Regions from separate parts of the Homo sapiens genome. Here region 1 is linked to region 2. Evidence: promoter capture Hi-C in 16 types of primary human blood cells and fetal thymus (Javierre and others, 2016). All regions are on one chromosome and are shown on one strand. Each heading gives the region's core, a stretch centred on a gene start or on the middle of the fragment in contact. The rest is flanking DNA. Distances are from core to core; before and after follow the strand shown. Region 1 overlaps PITX1-AS1 (PITX1 antisense RNA 1). Region 2 holds the start of PITX1 (paired like homeodomain 1).

Region 1 (5,537 bases), core at 710-3,209, 170 kb before region 2:
TGCACTGTGCACCTACTGTGTGCAGACCACTGGTCACATCCGCAGCAAGCACTCATATAAGCCGGAGCCCCAGGCTGACAGGGAGAGAGAAGAGTGTGTCGGTATCTGGGAAACCATTTTGCAGAGAACTCACAGAAACCAGGACCACTGCTGCTCTGCCTCCATGCCTCATCATGTCATCCCAAATTAAAGACCTCTGTGGGCTCTTTGCTTTCAAGAGGAAATTCAAGCTAAATTTAATCTGCCTCAACACCCTGTCTGGCAAGCACTAGGCCCCCAAAAAATGCTTTTATACCAATGCACATAAAGCGATTCACTCACGGTACACCCACCCCCAAACTCCATAAAACCCTGCTGGCCTTATCGGCCCCTGCAAAGCTCCTACAACCACAAGACTGGCACACGGCCTGCAATTCCACCAGGAGCTGCTCTTAGCTGGCCCTCACTCACCACACTCTAGCCACACTGATGGTTTTTAATTCCACAAGGAAACCAAGCTCTGCCCCTACCCCAGAGCCTCTGCAGCATGCTAGTCCCTCATCTGCACTGCTCCTCACTTACTGGGTTCCATCCCAGTCTTTACGCCTCAGCTCAAGAGTTACCTCCCAAGAGAAGCCACTGTATCCAGACTAGGTCCCTCTATCCCATTTGTTTAATAGCACTCTTCACAACTTGCCATTGTCTTTTAGTCTCTTTGTGCTTTATCTGACTATCCTTCCCACTCTAATGAAACAGCTCCAGTAAAATGGGCACCATGTCTGTCCTGCTCACCCATGTATTCCTAGTACCTGGTACGCTACAGGTACAAAATAAATGTTTGTAGAATGGGTGGGTGAATGACTGAGTTCCCAGGGAGAGATATTAAAAATAATTACCATCATCCACAATGAATAGAGGGAGTGATGGGGTTCCCTGGTTGGGGAGGTGTGGATGGGGCAGGCAGGGCAGGCTCCTGCCTCCCTCTCAGAGACTGGTGGGACAGACAGAGAATGGCACCAGAAAACTCACCATAGGACCGATGGTGACATTCTGCCCTATCACTAGCTACCCCTGAAGAGGGCATCTCAAACAGCCTGTGGTCCATGACCACAACATGCAGGCCAGGGTCTGAGCCCTAAGGGAGGAGACCTTTCCCTTCCCAGCCTACCTGTACCTTCTCAAGGTCTGCTGTGGGCCAGGGTCACTGGTGGGAGATAGGGAAGGGCACCCTGGAGAGTACAGCAGCCATCGGCACCATGTTGACAGGCCCCAATGGGAGCCTGATCTCATCACGTCTTCCCTGCTGACAAAAATGCAGCTCCCTGGGTGGGGACACTTACAGAGAACATCAGACCCCATGCCCAACCCCCCATATAGATCCCAGCCAACATTTCCAGTTTGCGAGTTTCTCTAAGCAGATGTGTGCCAGACTGGGCTGGATTACCATTGTAACATTTGCCTTTCATGGGAGTCTAAGCTTCTCCCTCCCAGACTTAGATTTGAAACAAGCTGTGATGGATGTTCATGCTAATAGGAAGACTAACAGCTGGTCACCATTTATTTATGCAAAGAACTTCACGTGGGGAGAAACGTCTACATACCACATCATCAACTAGACACCATTCTGTTACCACGCACAGGCCTGCCGTGTGGGGCTTCCTGCTAAATTAGAGTCCTCCTGTCCCCATGGCTTCTCCTGCCCAGGGATCCCTCACTGAGGAGGAGATGAGGCTGAGGAGGGGGTTTCTCCTCGCATTCATGTCCTCACTCACTCCATGGCCCCAGGCTGGAGTATTTATATAGCCACATTGACTGCTTGCAGCCAGCGAGGTCCATTAGTAGGATGTAAACAGCTCTCAGCTCTTCAAAGGCCAGGGCCAGCCATTCTGTGGGGTCTGAGTCAGCCTGCCAGGGGCTCGCGTTTCAAGCCTTATTCATCTTCCTGATAACTTCCATAAAGGGCCAATGCTGCCTTCCTGGTGTGCTGGGCCTGCCAACAGCACCCCCAGTGGGATTTTCACAAGAAATTGGCATTCACTAAGCTCCTGCTATATACATAACTCTTTCCCAGTCACTCTGGGGAGGGAGAAAAGAGCAGAAAATACATTCACTATCTTTTAGGGCATAAGGCACATGTGGGTAAGAAATATTATGAGTCATCACACAGAAAACCCAACCAAGGGCAGAGTGACATCGGGAAGGGCAGGGTGAGCCAGGAGGGCATAGAACTTAGTGTCCAAGGACATGGGCCACCTCTAGAGAGCCTGGGGTTTGAATGCTAATTGCCTTTAACTGTGTGACCTCAGTCAAGTGGCTTAAACCCTCTGGGCCTAGGTTTTCTCACCTACAAAACGGAGATGACAGCAATAAGATTATGGTGAGGACTAAACAAAATGGTACATGGAGAACACTTAGCATGATGCCTGGAAGAGAGTAAGTGCTCAAGAAACATCAGCTGTGGTTCATTACAAGAGGAAGCTTTCTGGAGAAGGTGAGTTCTGAGCATTCAGAACAAGTGAGGAACACAGACAGACCCCTTCCCTAGCTGGTCATCTTGTCTGTGGGGTGGTGACATTGGCACACACTGCCTCTCTGATTCAGAGTACAGAAGAGGGAAAGACCATTTGCTGGTCTTCTAAGTGTGGACAAAAAAATCCACTCCTAAGAGCCACTCGGTCTTCCAGGAAAAACGAGCAATCCTATAGCAAATTAGCCCATGGAAAAGATTGCCCAAAAGTTCAGAGTCAGATTGTCCTTAGTCTGGGGTAGCCCTGTCGCTCGAGGAAGCTGAGCCTGGCCACAGCTGGGGGTCAGGGCACAGGGGTGGTGGGGCAGAGAGACAGTATGCTTCCTGGCAACACTCCCATTGTCATCACTGCAGAGAGGGGCTTGGAGGAGAGGAGCACCAGCCTTGCACTTTGAAACTGTTACTGGCTTCTGACTCAGACCAAAAAAACCAAACCAAACAAACAACTTCTTTGATTATGCTGGGAGCATGCAAAAAGAAAAACAACAACAACAAAAAGCCTTCGTCTCCTGGCCAGACTTCAAGTCAGAGCGTAGAAGGAATATCTGCATCTGTGCAGATTTTCACAAAGCACTTTCTCATCCTTTGTCTCAGGGTACCCTTACAAGGATCCAGGAAGGCAAGCAGAGAAAGCATGAGTATCATCTTCAGTTTGCAGGTGAAAAATTGGGGTTCAGAGAGGCGAAGGGACTTGCCCAAGGTCACAAGTGACAATGTGGCAAAGCTCAAACTCAAACCCAAGTCTTCCAGTGCCTGATCTAGTCCTCATTGTCTTCCCCACCTGACTCTCTTCCTACCAGTCCCAGCTGCCAAAAATCAGGGCTGTTTGGACAGATAAAGAATATATACAATAAAAAAAAAAAGCTTTCAGCCATGCATGAGACTCCATGGGAGCAAACGATATATTGCATATGGCAACTTCCTTCCCAGATGTTCCCAAGATGGCAAGAGAGCTCCCAGAGGGAAGACAACAAGTTCTCAAGAAGGAAGCAACTTAAGTTCTGCCAAGAGGGAATGGCAAAATGAACTACATCATGTTCACACTGTGGAACAGCAACAGCCACAAGAACAGAACAAGGCTGATCTTGATGTACTGGCACAGGAAGAACACTGGGGCACTGACGAGTAAGAGCCACAGTTGTGAATGAAGCATGCTGTATGATCCCATGGATATCAAACAAGCAATGAAAACAAAACCACATACTGTCTCTGGATTCATAGACACATACGTAAATGCACGGAAAAACATCTGACAAGACCCACCCTCTATCAGATATCTTCCACTTGCCCCTGCAGGGCCACGATCCACCCTCTGGGCCCCAGGAGGTGGCTCTATATGAACTGCATCAGTGGGCTGCCTTGCAGCACCAGCAGGAGACCAAAGGAAGGGGAGAGAATGAGGTTGGAATACTTACTAGGTTGGTGCAAAAGTAGTTATTTTCCCAGTCCTCCCACCAGGAGGTCTCCAAAAACTGGCCACTTCCCTCAGCCAAAGATTATGGCTCCTTTCAAGGTGCCCACACTCTCCTCTTCCAGGTTCTTGTTCTTTGGGCCTAAGGTGAGAAAGGCTTTCTGCTGTAGCAAGCCCTGGAGTGCCGCACTATGCTTTGTGGATTCCCCTGCCCACAACTTTACAATCTTGTCCTTATAGTAAAATTATCCTAGTTAGAATGTGCCATCTGTTTCCTCCCAAGACAACACTCAAGTTATCCACTGAGGGGGCAGTGGAGGAAGAGAGCAGCAGGCACTGGTAGCTGAGGCTTGGCGATCTATAGTGGCATTAGCCTTTGCAGTAATTATATGCTCGTGTGTTTACTTTGTATCATGGAAAATTTCAAGCACAGGCAAAAACAGAATAGCGTAACAAGGTCCCAGGTATCCATTTCCCAGCTTCAACAATCATCAATTCATGGTCAATCTTGTTTCAACCATGGGCCTACCCACTTCCCAGCCCTATATTATTTTAAGGCAAACCCAAGACATCGTATGTTTTAAATTTACAAGAAACTATATTTCTATATGGCCTGGGTAATTAAAATTTAATTAAAAACAAAAAGAAATTCTCAAAACTAGAACTTCTGATGGTGAAGAGACCCTGTCTTTGTTTTTAGATTTTATCCAGGCCAAGGCTTTCCCCCTCCTGTTTGCCCCAGAACCACGGCTCAGAGGCTGGCCAGGTGGCCCTGTTGGCCCCTTCAGTGGGCTGGGGGCCCAACTAAGACTGGAAGTCCTTGCCAACCTGTTTTGAATGTGGAGGATCTTGTTACAAACACAAAGCCACAGGAATACCTCCCATCTGAGCATCAGCTTCTAGTTTTCACCCAGCTACTTTTGTCCCTTGGTTTCCTTGTTTTGTTTCTACTTTTTATTGAAGGACAACTTTATACTTGTGAGATTCATTCCATATTGTTACATATAATTGTGGACTGTTTAGTTCCACTACGGTATAGTATTCCATAGTATGAATTTAAACCACAATTCACTTACCCATGCACTCTTGATGGGAACTTGGGTGGTTTCCAATTTGGAGCTATTACAAATGGTATTACTATGGACATTATACCATATGTCTTTTGAGGTTCATATGTATGCATTTCTGTTTGTTGTACACATAGAATGGAATGTCTGGGTCATAAGAAGACATATGTTTAACTTATCCAAAGCGTATGAGATTTCTGGTGTTCAACATCCTTGCCAACACCTGGGTATCTTCTGGGTTGCTTTGCTTCACTTTAGTCATTCTTGTTGATGTGTTGTGTCTCTCATTGTGCTTTTAATGCGCATTTCCCCAATGACTAATTAAGCCAAACAGTTTTTCTTATTTTTTGGCCATCTGCATATCCTTTTATGGAGTACCTTTTCAAGTCTTTTGCACATATTTCTAGTGGGCTGTCCTCTTTGTCTTATCAGTTTGTAAAAGTTGTTATATACATACACAAGTCACTTATCAGTTGTAGGTTTTGCAAGTATCTTCTATGCTGTAGCTTGCTTCTTCATTTTCCTAATGCTGTCTTTTCATAAGGAAAAGTTT
Region 2 (5,176 bases), core at 1,492-3,991:
AGTGCTGCCCAGGCCCAGCAGAACAGACTCTGCCAGCAGGCCCCACTAGCCCCAGCTCCTCTTTGGGTCTCAGGTCCCCTGAGGATATGGGGCTTCACCTGAAATGGTCTGAGGGCTTTTCCTTCTACACAGCAGGCATCAAGATCACCAAATAAAGGGACTATTGTGCCTGCCTGGAGCCCTGCCAGAGGTTTGGGCCCAGAGGGGCACACAGCAGGTGCTCAATAACTGCATTAAATGCACTAACAGTGAGGAAACACGCCCCTCAGACTAAGCAGTGAGTGCTGCTCACAGAATAGTCCCCATTGGGGGATGGCCCAAAGAGTCACTTTGGTCCCTCTGGGAAGTGAGAAGGCAAGTGAGAAGGCTGTGAGTCTTAACCTCCTCTAGAGGCCCACAGACAGACCATTCATTTCTAAGTCTCTACCCAGAGACGCACTGTGCTTCCCACCTTGGCCTGACATGTGGCAGGGTTAGAACACACCTCCTATCCCCTGCCAGCCCGCGTTCATGCCAAGTAGCACATATATGCCTAAACTCAGCACTTCCATAGTGCAGTGAATACATGTGTGTGTACAGCATCTCCGCATGGATGTACAGGATGTGTGTGTGTGTGCGTGCCCCCATGCTGTCTGCATTCAGGCTGTTCTTTTTGGTAAGACAGCTAAAAAAAGAATGGTCTGTGAAGGGACACTCCCTAGCACGCTGCAACACCTGAATATCTCCTTGAAAGGAGGGATCTTCTACTGCAGGAGACTCGTGGTAAAGGTGGCCAAGAAACATGGCAACGGTGGGGCTGAGGGCAAATGCTGGGCAACTGTGCTTCCCCATGTTCCCCTCCCCGTAGCCAAGACTCATTTCATGGAGGGAGATCTCAGCTTGGAAGAAGGCAGGAGTCACTGAGCCTCCCCAATCCAAACCCCTGAGAAGTGTCCTCCCTCTGGCCTCAGACCCTGCATCCTGTGGTCACAGACCCACAGTGAGAAAGGACCAGGCCCTAAGGAGCTGTGCTGTCTCTCCACGGCCCAGAGCGGGGGATGGGGATGGGGATGGGGATGGGGATGGGGATGGGGATGGGGGTAGGGGTGGGGGTGCTTTGGACTAACGTGGAGGGAATGGAAGGCAGGCCTGGTTCCACCCTGCATGCCCGACCCTGGCCCCAGCAGCCCCCACAAGGAGCTCAGCTGACCCTGGGTGTCTCCCTGTGATGGGAAGGGGTAAGACGAGGACTCAAAGGCAGAACCTGCAGAGTGCCCCAGACGCTGATACCTGCACAGTCAGTGCCACCCACCCAGGAGTTGAGGAGGCACTGGGTTTTGGGGTGAGGACACTGGACACCTCCCTGCTTCTTTCCCAGGCAGACAATCCTGGCGCAGCTCCCTTGGGTTGCTGTGTCTGGTGGAGCTGATCACAGGTGAGGGGCAGAGGGCAGTCTGGGGTCCGCCTATGGCCAGAGGAGCAGGTCAGGGCGGCGCCTTGCCGCCCCAGCTGTGGCCTGTTTGCTCAAGACGCTGAGGTCTCGGGGCCAGCTAACAATTGTTGAGCAAAATCCTTCGACAAACTTCACCTACGTGCAAGGACTCGAGGAGGGAATCACTCTTAGGAGTGGGAGAGTAATGTCTTTGCCTGTGCCCAGTGAAGGCCCATTGGAGCTGCAGCTCAGCTACCACTGTGTGGGAGAGAAGCTGGAAGACTGAGGGCTTCCTGGGCTGCTGGCCCAGGGTTGGGAGACAGCAGTCACCTGGCTTACCAGGCCTATGCCTGAAGCCCTGGGAAGCCAGGACGCAGGCCCCAGGCTGGGACAAAGCTACCCTGAAGGAGGGCAAAGGCTGCCAAGGCCAACCCCATGCCTGCCAAGGCCAGGCCTGGCCCATTTGGCCAAGGCCTAAGGTGTAAAACAAGGGGAGAGGTACAAGAGGCTGTGGGGTCTGGCTGGGATCCTTGGGGTCTTCCTTCTGCATTCTCCAAACGCCTAGAGCCAGCAGAAACGTTTCGTCTGATTAGAAGCCATCATTTCTATCCCAATCCCGGAAAATTGACTGCGGTGCAGAGAGGGAGGCCTGAGAAGCAGCCGTAGGGGAGAAGGTCCAAGCTAATTAGGAGGCAGCATCCGGGGGCCCATTAGAGCGCAGGCTGCTGTCACTCAGCCGGGCTGAGTTCCCGGGAGAAGAGGCTGGAGAAGGAGGGGCAGGCGGCCCCTCGACGAGGACACCGCTGGGAGCTGCCGGAACGGGCCCCGGGCTCTGCCCCCGCCCCGGCGCTGGCTCGAAGGCGCCCGCTCGGTGCGATCCTGTTCGGCAAACATTCACTCATCCTGGGCTGTTCTCGCCAGGGCTGGGGACTTCGAGGCGGCCGAGACGGGAGTTGATTCTAGGCGAAACAAGTCATTTGAGGCCTGAGGTGTGCACGAGCCGCCCGGGACTCGCAGGCCAGATGCGTTTCTTTTGTGAGGCCGAGGGAGAACTCGGTGTGTCACCGGGGAAGGAGGGAGAGGCGCGGCGAGGCCGCGGGGGGCGGGGAGGCGGCGGGAAGGTGGCTGCGGAGGGGGAGGGCGCGGGCGAGGCAGGGAGGGAGGGAGGGCGGCAGTGAGGGCGCGGCGGCGCGGGCGGCTTGGGGCTGGATTCCGCCCGCGCTCCCTCGCTCGCTCGCTCCCTCCCCAGCCCCCTCCCACCCAGGCCCACCCCACCCAGCACCCCTGGCGCAGGGACTGCTGGAACCTGGCTGTGCGCGCTGTCGCTTTAAGACAGACTCTGCCGGCGCCGTCCGGAGCCTTAGAAACCGGCCCCGGATCGCGAGCCGGAGCCGGAGCCGGAGCCGGGGCCGGCCGGGCTGCTGAGGCCCGAGCGGCAGGAGCGCAGCGCGGAGCGCTGAGCCAGGCGCCCAGTCGCGAGAAGCTGCCGCCGCCTCTGCCCGCCCGGCGCCGCAGCCCCGGGCGGTCCATGGGGCGGGCACGGCGTCGCTGCAGGCGCCGGCAGCCCTGGAGGGCAGCCGCTTAGGCGCTGCGCTCTTGTCCCCGCAGGTCGCAGCCAGGGCGGCGGGGCGCGCCCAGCCCCGGCCCCTGGAGCGCCCGCCGCGGTCCCCACCTCCATGGACGCCTTCAAGGGGGGCATGAGCCTGGAGCGGCTGCCGGAGGGGCTCCGGCCGCCGCCGCCGCCACCCCATGACATGGGGCCCGCCTTCCACCTGGCCCGGCCCGCCGACCCCCGCGAGCCGCTCGAGAACTCCGCCAGCGAGTCGTCTGACACGGAGCTGCCAGGTAAGCGCCGTTCCCCGCGCGGCGCGCACAGAGCCTACCCGGGCGCGGAGCACGGGGAGCTGGGAGCAGGGCCTGACGCCCGCGCCGCGCAACCAAGCTCCCTCTCCGCCCCAGAAGCGTCAGGAGCTTTCTTTTTCCCGTTCTCGACCTGACGGTGAACGCGGAAACTTACGCACACGCGAAGGCACTTCCACGCGGTCCCCACGCGCCAAGAGACTGGCAGATGCACGAGCCTACAGCTGGAGGGTTGGACTGACAGCCCCTCTTGATCAGGAGTAAATAGAACGGGAAAGAATTTGATTTGCGCAACTGGGCGCTAAGGAGCGGCTCGGACGAAGGGAGAGGAGGAGACCGAGAAAGGAAGAGGGGTGACGGGCGAGAGAACGCACTCAGAGAGACAGAGAGGGAGGTTAACACCGTGACAGTAGGCGACAGAATGAAAGAGACCAAAGAGAAGGGGCGGGCGGGAAGGGTAAACGGGGGGAGAGGGGTCATCAAGTAGAAGGGAGACACAGAGGACGGTGAGGGCGAGCGGGCCAACAGGCGCGGCCGGACTCCCAGCAAGGCCAGCCGGAACGCCGATCAAGGGATCCGGCCCACGTGCGCGGCCGAAGCCCGGAGCAGCCCGGCTCTGGCCCCCGCCCCGGCTCCTGCGCGTCTCCCTCCGCGCTGCCTTTTTTTGTCCGAGCTGGAGCTTTTTTCCAGCAGCGAACTGGGCCCGCGGGTGGCCGGCGCGGGCAGTGGGGCAGCGAATCCGCTGCCCAGCGCAGCCGGCCGGGTTCCGGAGGGGCTCCGAGCTCCCCGGTGTGGGCGCCTCTTCTGCGTTCATTTCTTAATACACAGCTGAATGTTTCTCTCCACTTTCTTAGTATCTGTTTCTCTTTTGCATCCCTAAGTGATTTTTCTGAGAGGTTGTTTGCTTGGTTAAAACATAATCAACGCTGAACTCTACTTTTGTTTTCAAAAGTTTTAAGCGCGGTCTTTGGTTGGTTTTATTTTTAAAACCTAGAGAGATATATAATCGTATATTGATTTTTTTGAACCAAATCTATGAGGATGAATTAATTTTAACTGTATCTTTCGATTCTGAAAGAATTAACGTACGAAGTGTAGGTCTGGAATTTAAAATATCTACATGCAACATTATTCTTCCGGAGATTTTAAAAAGTCAATCCAAAATGGCGCGTTTCTCCGGAATTTTCTCAAAATCCATTTACAGTGGTGTTATTTGGGGAATTTAAATTATCTAACTATAATGTGTTTCTCTGGGATTTAAAAATTATCTCTACAAGGGCCTTATTGGGAAGGAGTTAAAAATCTATCTACAACGGTACATTATTTTTTTAAATCCCAGAGAAATAAATGCTTCTGTCAACCTGGAGTTTATACACTTACAGCTCTGTATTTAGTTAGGGGTGTGTTTGTACGGAGCTTTCTGGCTTCTTAATTTACATTTGCTCTGTGTTTCTTCCTGTCTGATTTTGAGAATTTGTGGCCCTTTCAGTGTCTTTAGGCATAGAGCTGTGAGCTTTTCTGGGCTTCTGTGTTTTGTTTTTAAACTCTTTTTCTTTATGTATTAATGTTTCTATGACTGCGTGTGTTTTGTGTAGCTTCAAAGAGAGACAGACTAAAGCCCGAGGTCACCTAGACAGAGTCTGTCTGTCTGGGCTGCAGTTGGTGGGGTTTTCTAGGCTTTGGGACTGGAGGCCTGGAAGCAAGGCCGAGAACCCGGCTGTGTTGTGCCTGCCCAGTGGGGCTCCCATACACCCCTGAGGAGAAGAAAGTGGAGGGACTTTAGGCTGGAGAGATCTGATCCTAGTTCAGAAAAGCAGAGACCCCCTCAGATTTAGACCCCCTAAGAGTTCGCAAAACAAACAAACAAAAAGCATACATTTGCTGGGAACATCAGCAGCAGGGTCA

What was found. The method cuts DNA at HindIII sites, captures the fragments that hold promoters and counts their contacts. A CHiCAGO score of 5 or more calls a contact.
Region 1: a fragment that was not itself captured here is called in contact with the fragment with the promoter of PITX1 in region 2 in 4 of 17 cell types (M1 macrophages, M0 macrophages, M2 macrophages and 1 more); the score reaches 8.2 in M1 macrophages.

Annotation. Positions count from the first base shown.
Region 1 is chr5:135,205,371-135,210,907 of GRCh38, reverse strand. The region is part of intron 3 of PITX1-AS1 (PITX1 antisense RNA 1); the gene reads right to left. Among named protein-coding and RNA genes, the nearest start is that of LINC02900, 40 kb to the left of the region's middle. The HindIII fragment of the contact is 1,001 bases long and covers 1,459-2,459 here.
Region 2 is chr5:135,031,793-135,036,968 of GRCh38, reverse strand. It overlaps PITX1 (paired like homeodomain 1), which reads left to right and starts at 2,741. Exons shown (of 3, transcript NM_002653.5): 1 at 2,741-3,256. The coding sequence starts at 3,088. PITX1-AS1 (PITX1 antisense RNA 1) reads right to left here and starts at 3,695. Exons shown (of 6, transcript NR_161235.1): 1 at 3,429-3,695. RefSeq lists an enhancer at 3,225-3,857 and a silencer at 5,028-5,176. The HindIII fragment of the contact is 7,456 bases long and covers 1-5,176 here.